2 separate regions of the Homo sapiens genome follow, and region 2 is linked to region 1. The links are contacts of gene promoters, found by promoter capture Hi-C in human tissues and cell types (Jung and others, 2019). All regions are on one chromosome and are shown on one strand. Each heading gives the region's core, a stretch centred on a gene start or on the middle of the fragment in contact. The rest is flanking DNA. Distances are from core to core; before and after follow the strand shown. Region 1 holds the start of LMO2 (LIM domain only 2). Region 2 overlaps ABTB2 (ankyrin repeat and BTB domain containing 2).

Region 1 (4,369 bases), core at 416-2,915:
GTGCCATCTTGGCTCACTGCAACCTCCGCCTCCCGGGTTCAAGCAATTCTCCTCTCTCAGCCTCCCGAGTAGCTGGGATTACAGGGATGAGCCACCACGCGTGGCTAATTTTCATATTTTTAGTAGAGACAGGGTTTCACCATGTTGCCCAAGCTGGTCTTGAACTGCTGACCTCAGGCGATCTGCCTGCCTTGGCCTCCCAAAGTGCTAAGATTACAGGCGTTAGCCAATGTGCCCGGCCTGTAAGTTTTTTAAAAACCTAGAGGTGAGTAATTATAATAAGTGATATTATTATTATTATTACTCTTAACAACAATGACAATGATGACTGATGAGGGCTAAGTACCAGCTACTATCCAAGCACTTCCATGATTTATTTCTATTATTTCTCACAATGACCCTATGGGTACCCCTATATTACAAATGAGAAAACTGAGGCTGCCATCTTTCTAAGGTCTAAAGTGATTTTCTGGGAGCACAAACAAGAGCTTAATTAATTTTAACAGATAAAGACAGAAAAGGCTTCACAGAAGATTCACCTTTTCAGGGCAACCTAAAGAAGTATGGGTTGGTTTTCTTTAAGCTGAAACATTACGGCAAGAACCTGGAGTAATATCTGCTTCAAAGGGGAGTTATGCAAAGTCAACAAGAGAAGACGTGTAAAACCCAAGCACAGTACCTGGCACAAAGTAGATGCTCCCAAATCTTTGTTCCCCTTCATTGATCCTCTGTGATGGAAGGAACTTGTAGCCACTTTCCTCATCCGCCTTGGTTTTTCAAAAACACCCTTTGAAGTTATAACCTCCTTGGGAGCCAAGGCTTCTCTGAAGCACCCCATTACAATCTTTGCCCTCAACTCAGAACTGGAATGTGTTTGAAAATGCTAACAAGGGCAGCAGCCCCACCTCTTCGTCATTGCCTAAGGTTGTTAGGCAAACACACACACACACACACACACACACACACACACACACACACATGCACACACACTCACACAGTTGCTGGGGAGATCATGGTAAACACAAGCCTCTCTTTTGGATCAGAATAATTGAGTGGTCTCCCTTTGTGGCCAGTGTACAGGAACAAATTAGATGGGTAAATTAGCAGTTCCCGAAGACATTAGCAACCAGCGGCTCACACAGCAAGCGCCTGACTCACCGTGGGGCCTCTCCAAGTCACAGCCTATGAATAGATGCTCTTCCTCCCTCCGAAAGAGAAGCCAGAGTGCCCGGAACACCACAGGGGAAGCTTGAAGACTTGTACCCCTTTGGAGTCTTTTTATTTTAAAAGACCAATTTAATCACCACTTCTTCTGGCTCCTTGAAGATGAAAAAAGTTCCCTTGCAATCGTCCATTCATCAGAGAATTAATGAAGCCTACTCACCAGCAGATGATGTAATCCTGGTGGCTTCCCCCATCAGATCTAGGCTGCCTGCCCCACGGATACCTTCTGGGCTAATTGCCTGCTTTGCACCTGTTCCTTCTCGGGAGGCCCTGGCACCCTAGCACCTGGTGCCTGTGCCATCTCCCCTCTCTGCCAGGACACCCAGAGGCCCTTGTGAATAGCAAAGCCCACTTAACGGCTGAGGGCAGGTGGGGGTATTTCCTTCTCAATTCTGCTCAAGGCCCGTTGCTGTTCTTTGAGGATGTTGCAAATCCAGGGTTTGGAGGGCTGGGCCTCTTGGTGGCCTGGTTGTCTATCTGATAGGGCGGAGCCTTCACCCTTGCAGCGAGCTCTCTCACACCAGATGTGCTCTGCGTGGAATCCTAGGCCATCAGGGGATTCCTTAGCAAGCCCTGCAGGACCCAAATCCTAACTCAGACCCTCATCCTCCTACTCAGAATGTGGAGACTTGTGATCCTCAGTTTGGACGAATTCCAAGAGACCTTCCAATTCCCAGAGGCCATCTTTGGTTCTGTTCACACATAGCTCCCTCTCCCTCCTAGGCCTTCTCCCTTTGAATTTCTCCCCTACACCATCAGCCTGTATTTACTTCTCCTTCTTGCTTAATGCATGACTATATTATCCCAGTTAAGGGGGTCTGCAGGTTTTATCAGAAAGTTCAGAGGCTCACATGACCTGGATTGGAACTTGGCTCAGCCACTGACTAGCCAGACAAACTCAAATAACGTACACAGCTTCTCAGCACCTCACCCCCTCATTCATAAAAAACAGGGACAATGGTACCCACTTTGCAGGGTTGTTGAGTGGATTAAATTAAACAACACAAGGAAAGAGCTTTCCTAAGTTCCAATGCTATGTAACACACACAGTATTGTCTTACCCAGCAATAATTTCGGTGCACGGATCTGATCATCTCTTAATTAAATATTGAATTCTCCTAACACGGTTCTTTTTTTGAACCCCTCAGGGTCTGAACAGTTATAAGTGCACAGAAGTTGGGTCTTTATGAGCTGAATAAAAGGAGACTCCGGCTGTCTTCTCTTTTGTCCTTACCATAAAGCTCTTGTCAGCTGCTCTCCTGGCCCTGCCTCTGACCCTGGGCTTTGGGGCCACTATAGGCTCTCCTTTCCTTGTCCCCCTCTGAGTCCTGAAGTCCTGGTTTGCAATCTGCTGTTGCAGTTCTCTGGAATGGCTGCTTCCCCATGCGCCCCTGTCTGTCAGCTACCTCCCCCGCATGCATGTCTGTCTGCTGGGCAAGGCCCAATTCCGAGGTGACAGCTCACCGGGCCTCACCCACAAGTCTCTTCCAAGCATTAGCAGCCCACCCCAGTCCAAAGATATCTTTTATAGCTGATCTCTGGTGGCACCTCCTACCTTCCAATTAGGAGCCTGTCAACACCCAGGCCATCACTCTTCCTGCAGTGTCTGACAACACACACGCCTGCCGCGGCTGCGCCGGGAGAGTCAAGCAAAATTGTTTCCATGGTGGTGGTGGTGGCCTGAGCACAAGAGTTGAAATCTAGGTGAATCTGAATCTAGTTCTGCCTTCTCACTTTGCAAGGAGGTGTCTTATTTCTCTTTGAATTGGCAGCACCAAGCATCATGCCTGGCACACAGTAGGTACTCATAAATAAACACGTGTAAATCAAAAAGGCCGAAGATACATTGCTAGCTTGCAGACTCCCTTTCTCAATGTCTAATGATATCCAGTTCATTTCTTTCTCTTACATGTGCAAATCAGAAAGTTAGCTCATAACTCATCTGTTGTGACTTTTTCTTTCCTTTACTTTTGTGGTTGAAAATAAATTTACCCCAGAAAAGAGAGAGAGAAGGTGCCTGATTCCTTTGTCCTCCCTCTTCGATCCTCTCTAAATCCCTGGGTCATGGTAAGACTCTCTGAAATTCAGGGCCATTTTCAGACACTGGAGCCAATGAGGGAAGTATGACACAATCGAACATTTTTCTTATCTGGCAGTGTGGTCTGGTGGTTAGCATACGGGCTCTGCCAGTCGGAAGTCTGCCTTTCTATTTCTGGGGCTTAGGGGAAACCATGAAGCAACAGTCTTAGCAGCCCACTCACTCTTGCTTTCTCTTTCTCAATGTAAAATTGAGTTCACATTGGACCTGCTTACCCACAGCAGTCACCAGCTCAACCAGGGAAGGAAACGCACCACCCTGCTAGCCCTGCTTCAGCCTTGGGTGAGGCTGTGAAGGCTGGTGGTAAGCCGATGAAAGATAATCCAAAGAAATGAAAGTGAGGGTGATGAGTAGGAGAGCGGTTTGGGGCTGAGGGTACGAAGATGCCATGATGACTGACTTAACCACATCAAACTAAACCATGTCTCCTACTACAATTCACCAGCCTGAAATTGTGAGAGGATCTCGGGCGCGGAGATTTCGCTGGCTAAGGGGCACCCTGTGTGCCTACAAGAGGAGGTGGGAGGGAAGTTAACCTTGCGTTGTCCTCCAGGGCGCAAATCCAAAAGTGGGAAAAAGGGGAAGTTCTTTGATCTGAAGTAGAAAAAGTCGGGGAGAGAAGGAGAAACACCCAGAATGGCAACAAATTTGATGAAATCAGAGGGACAAAAAGAAGAGAAGGGTATTAAGATCAGATCTTCTGAAGGGCAGAGAACTATAATGACACAGTTGCTTTATTGCTGGACCCAGGACAGTTTATACAGCAGTTCGGAAAGGCCTCTTGAGGGGTTATCTGTGTCAGCCCAGCCTAGCATCGATAGAAACATGAATCTCTGGGAAATTATCTTGTGCCTCAGACTTCAAAGTACATAGAGATTTGAACAGCCTTGAAGTCGATAGGAAAACTTTCAGCATTTGATCAGTCGAATTATCCCACCATAACTCTGCAAGTTCTTGAGCCACATCTAGAAAGAACAAGGCAAGTTAGGGAAAAATCATCATTTAACATGTCATTTCTTTCCTCATTTCTACCCAAATGATCTTTAG
Region 2 (4,379 bases), core at 547-3,046, 260 kb after region 1:
CAGGGAGAAGAGCAGGTTCTGTATGCGACCCTAGGGCTGCTGAGGCTTGTCACCGAGGCTGTCAGGACATGAGCCTAGGGGTCTTTCGTTTCTTGGGACTGAAGTTTCCTGGCCACAGACCTCTGTTAGGTCTGTAGGAAATTTTGCTGGAGGCAGGGAGGGGGCATGAAAATAATTTTTATTTATTTTCTCAGGTGGGTGCCTGAACCTGCCTTTCAAAGAGGGTTTTCTTAGACCGTGGCCAGAAGCAGAGTCACATGCTCAAATGGTCAGAGCTGGATGGGACTGTGCAAGTTGTCCAGGCATATCATCCTACAGGTAAGGAAGCTTTTGTTTAGTGTCTCTACCCTCAAAGTCTCCCCGGCTGGCTCTGCTTTGGGGTGCAAGGTGAGGGCTCTGGAGGTAGACTGCTCTGCCCTGACGCTCACCGTGGCCTTGGGCAGGTTACTTCATCCTACCTGCCCTTCAGGTCCATTTCTGCAAAATTTGAGTGGTAGGAATAGCACCTCCGTCACGGGACTGTGGTGAGAAGTGGGTGGGGTAGAATGGGAAACGTTTAGAACAGTGCCTGGCACATAGCAAGTGCCTCTGGGTTCTGGGCACTCATCAGATCTAACTAGAGGAGCCGCTCAAGTTCAGTTACATGCCAGCTCTAAGAATACTCAATAAGGACTAGCTGTGGTGTTCTTTTGAAAACAGACAGGGTCTTGCTCTGTTGCCCAAGCTGGAGTGCGGTGGCTCAATCATAGCTCATTGCAGCTTTGAACTCTTGGGCTGAAGCCATTCTCCCACCTCAGCCTTCCAAGCAGCTGGGAAGGTGCTCACCACCACACCTGCCTAATTTTAAAAATTATGTACAGATGGAGTCTCAATATGTTGCCCAGGTTGGTCTGGAACTCTGGCCTCAAGTGATCCGCCTGGGCCTCCCAGAGTATAGGGATTAGAGGCATGAGCCACCACACTTGGCCAGGACTGGCCATGTTATAAAACCACAACCTAAGCTAGAAAAGGAGTCTCCCTTGGCCAGCGAAGAGCATGCATTTTGCAGTCAGACTTGTCTGGCTCTGTATAATATCTCTGTATCCTTGGACAAGGCCTCTTTATTTGCAAAGTGTGTGTTCCTAAACACACGCTTGGGTCTTTGCATTTTATGGTCATGATCTTGGGTTCTCCTTCAAACCTGAAAAGGCATGTCTCCCCCACACCTCACCATCTGGCCCCCAGACAGAGTGACATCTGTAAAGCTTGGCTGTCTTAGGAAATGTCACTTGCGAAATGAATTCAGATAGGCCAGCCATGAGTGCTGTCACCAGAAGGGGAAGAGCCTGAAGAAGCCTGAACAAAGAAGGTTACTAAATGGTCACCCCCCATACCCCCTCGCCAGGCGGGGCTAATGCCGGCCTGCTTCAGTGCTTCCACTGCTCATCTGGCCCGGAAGTCCCGGAGGACTCCGGATGACCAGGAGACGGGACACAAAGGGGGCCGCTGAGGCTGGGAGGTGGGGGAGGGGCAGAAATAAGTGACCGTCACCTTGGAAAAATGTAGACTCATTATCTGAGGCCTGTTACAACACCCGCAGCCATTCTGCAGGCCTGGAGGAGGGGGTGGGGTCGGAAGCCCCTTGGGCTGGAATAGACAATTTCAGGGGATTGCCCCTGAGGGGGCATGCCCTTGATTCTACAAACAATTGGTTCCAGTTAAACATCATCTGGATCCTGCAAAGCGGACTTGAAAGGCAGCCTGAAAGGGAGAGGCCGGGGCTTCCTGCTTGGGCTGGTTCCGTTGAGAAAGCTCTAGCCACCTGGTATCTGGCACGGGGACTAATGTGGAAAAGGATAACTGGCCTTCCAGGCCGAGAGCCTAAAGGAAAGCTTCAGGAGAAGATTTGAATGCAGGAAAGAAACCAGACAGCCTCAAAAAGGACAATCTCAGTGTTAGCCCTGTCGGTGCAGGAGCAGACTGGTACCTGCCACCTCTGGAGAGGTGTTTTCTTTGGAGACGGCTAAGGCGCCAGCTTATGCTTGCCTGTGGACCCACTGGAGCCGAGTGAAATCCCTGTAGATGCAACCCATGCTCACAGCACCTGGGTCCTCAAGGGCTCCAGTAAGAGGGTAACTCCCCCAAGCCTGCCTGTGGCTGCTCATAGCAGGCGGAGCAGGGCAGGCCGTGAGCAGTGGCCCGGAATTAGGAGGTCCAGCTGCCTGGGTAAGTGATCATTTCTGTTTGAGTCCTAGCCCCTTGGAAGCATGTCTGCTTTTTTTTGGTAATTATTTTAATTTTAAATGTTTATTCAAAAATGTATTCCTGCTACCCACAGGCTCCAAGGGGCCCGCTCCCTCCTTCCTACCTCCACTTTCTCTCAACCCCCCACTCACCCTCTCAAGAGAGGAAATGGTGGATCCCTCATCTGGAGCCAGAATGCAACTAGATCTTGCTTTCTAGGCTGGGTACGGACCAAGGCATGTCCTGCAGGGATGGGGGAACTTGTGGGGACGCTGGACACAGACCCATGAAGGGCAGCCACTTTGAATGGCAAGTGCTGGGGACGGACAGCCCGCTCCACCACCGTCTTGGGCCACTGCACAGGAAGATGGTGTGGGGGAGTGCGCCCCCTCCTAGTGGCCCCCAGAGGGCACCATGGGTCTGTGCGGCCACAGGTCCCCAGGCTGGGCCTCGAGCTGCCCTGCGCAGCTCCTGCTGGAATTGGGCTTTGCCAGGGACTGGGATCTTTATGTCGTTCCCCTAACGCCTGAGTCACGGCCGGTCACTGACCCACAGCCACTTTGGTTCAGGTTCTCAGTGACCTTAGGAATTTCTATACCTGTTTCAGGCAGGCAGGCAGGCGACTTTTTTTTTGAGAGAGAGTCTTGCTTTGTTGTCCAGGCTGAGGTGCAGGGGTGATCATAGCTCACTGCAGCCTCGAACCCCTGGGCTCTGTGATCCTCCCACCTCAGCCTCCTGAGCAGCTGGGAATACAGATGTGCACCACTATGCCCAGCTAACTGGCAGGGAATGTTTTAAAAACTTATATTTGTGCCTGAACTTTGCACCTAAAACTACAGCCATAACTCCAGTACACTCTTGGACCTGAGTCGGCGCCTCACCATCTCCCTCCATTACCTCTGCTAGTGGCCTTGTGGTGGTACAGCCAGCTTAGCTTAGCTGGGCCTGGGGGCAGCAGTCACCCAGGGATAGGTCCCTCAAATCAATCAGGCCAGGTCAGGCCTGGGTGAAGGAGGCCCTGCTGCCACTTTGGTGGGCTGTGCCATTTGGGGATGTGCCTCTGAAGACAACCCCCAAAATAGCTCCCACATAAAGGGCCGTGGAGGGGATGGGAGTGGAGATCAGGAAAGCCTGATAGTGTCATATTCCTCAGTCATTTGGTGTCTGTCCAGCTCAGTGGCACACATGTGCTTAATTAAATGTGAGCGTGGGCGGGTGAGGAATGGATCCAGGCTTCGTTTCTGGAGAGAGGCGAGTGCTGGGTGGCCACAGCAATGGCTTTGGTAGGGTCTTGGCTCTGAGAGGGGGGAGACCTGAGTAACAGCGTTAGCTCTGGGATCTCTTCCTGGTCCTAAGGGGCTCCTCCCCAGTTCTGAACTCTGAGTAACCCTCTACCAGGAGCAGTGAGGCCAAGGTCATTGTTAATGAGTGTTTATTGTTAATAAAACCATAGTACATTTACAGTAAGTGACAACATTATTGTACAGTTAAAGTATCATACAATATTACAGCAATAAAATAATGCCTATTTCTTTGTACATCCAGCCAAGCAGCTAGTCAAAATATTTTCCAGAATTGCAAGCCCCTGGGGGCTTTTCAGGGTGACCTGAGTGCCACCTTCTGAAATGCCTGGGGCTTTTGGTGAATAAATAGTTTTTAAGGTGCGGCCAGACAGCTGAAGAAGTTGCACCCAGACAGACTGTGCCTGATGCTGCCCCAGTGTCTGGTCCATAAATATGACAGGTGTCAGGGGAGCCCAGGGCCTGCAGAATTCGAGGGCAAGGCCGTGAGGGGACACAGCAGAAAGGCCTCTTCTCCTGGCCCTTACCTTCCATCAATGCCCTGTCCTTTAATCTCCAAGAGTCACAGTCCCCAGTGGGACCTGTTTGCCCAGCTCTCAATCCTACATTAAAGGAGCCGAGAGACTTGACCAGGGGACTCTGCTTCATCGCCCCCACAAAGGCAACCTAGTCTAGGCCTGAGGTTCCAGAATCCACCCATTTACTTTGGCCCCTAAAACCAGCAGCAAAACAAGAGCTGAGGCCATTCCTACACAGCACCCCATCCCCTACCCCTTGCCCCTCCATGCCAGACTTAGCTCAGAAACCATCAAGCTGGGGAACTGCCCTCTGCTGCTAACTGAGCAAGCTGGTAGT

Evidence for each region. Contacts are between HindIII fragments. The study calls those that stand out against the background at their distance.
Region 2: a contact is called between a fragment that was not itself captured here and the fragment with the promoter of LMO2 in region 1, in 1 of the 25 tissues and cell types used here (neural progenitor cells).

What each region holds. Positions count from the first base shown.
Region 1 is chr11:33,890,411-33,894,779 of GRCh38, forward strand. LMO2 (LIM domain only 2) reads right to left here and starts at 1,666. Exons shown (of 6, transcript NM_005574.4): 1 at 1,385-1,666. LOC105376621 (a long non-coding RNA gene) reads left to right here and starts at 3,536. Exons shown (of 3, transcript XR_931176.3): 1 at 3,536-3,625. RefSeq lists enhancers at 1,122-1,231, 3,609-3,778. The HindIII fragment of the contact is 12,407 bases long and covers 1-4,369 here.
Region 2 is chr11:34,147,349-34,151,727 of GRCh38, forward strand. ABTB2 (ankyrin repeat and BTB domain containing 2) reads right to left here. Exons shown (of 17, transcript NM_145804.3): 17 at 3,639-4,379. Among named protein-coding and RNA genes, the nearest start is that of NAT10, 44 kb to the left of the region's middle. RefSeq lists an enhancer at 2,572-3,101. The HindIII fragment of the contact is 4,598 bases long and covers 1-4,095 here.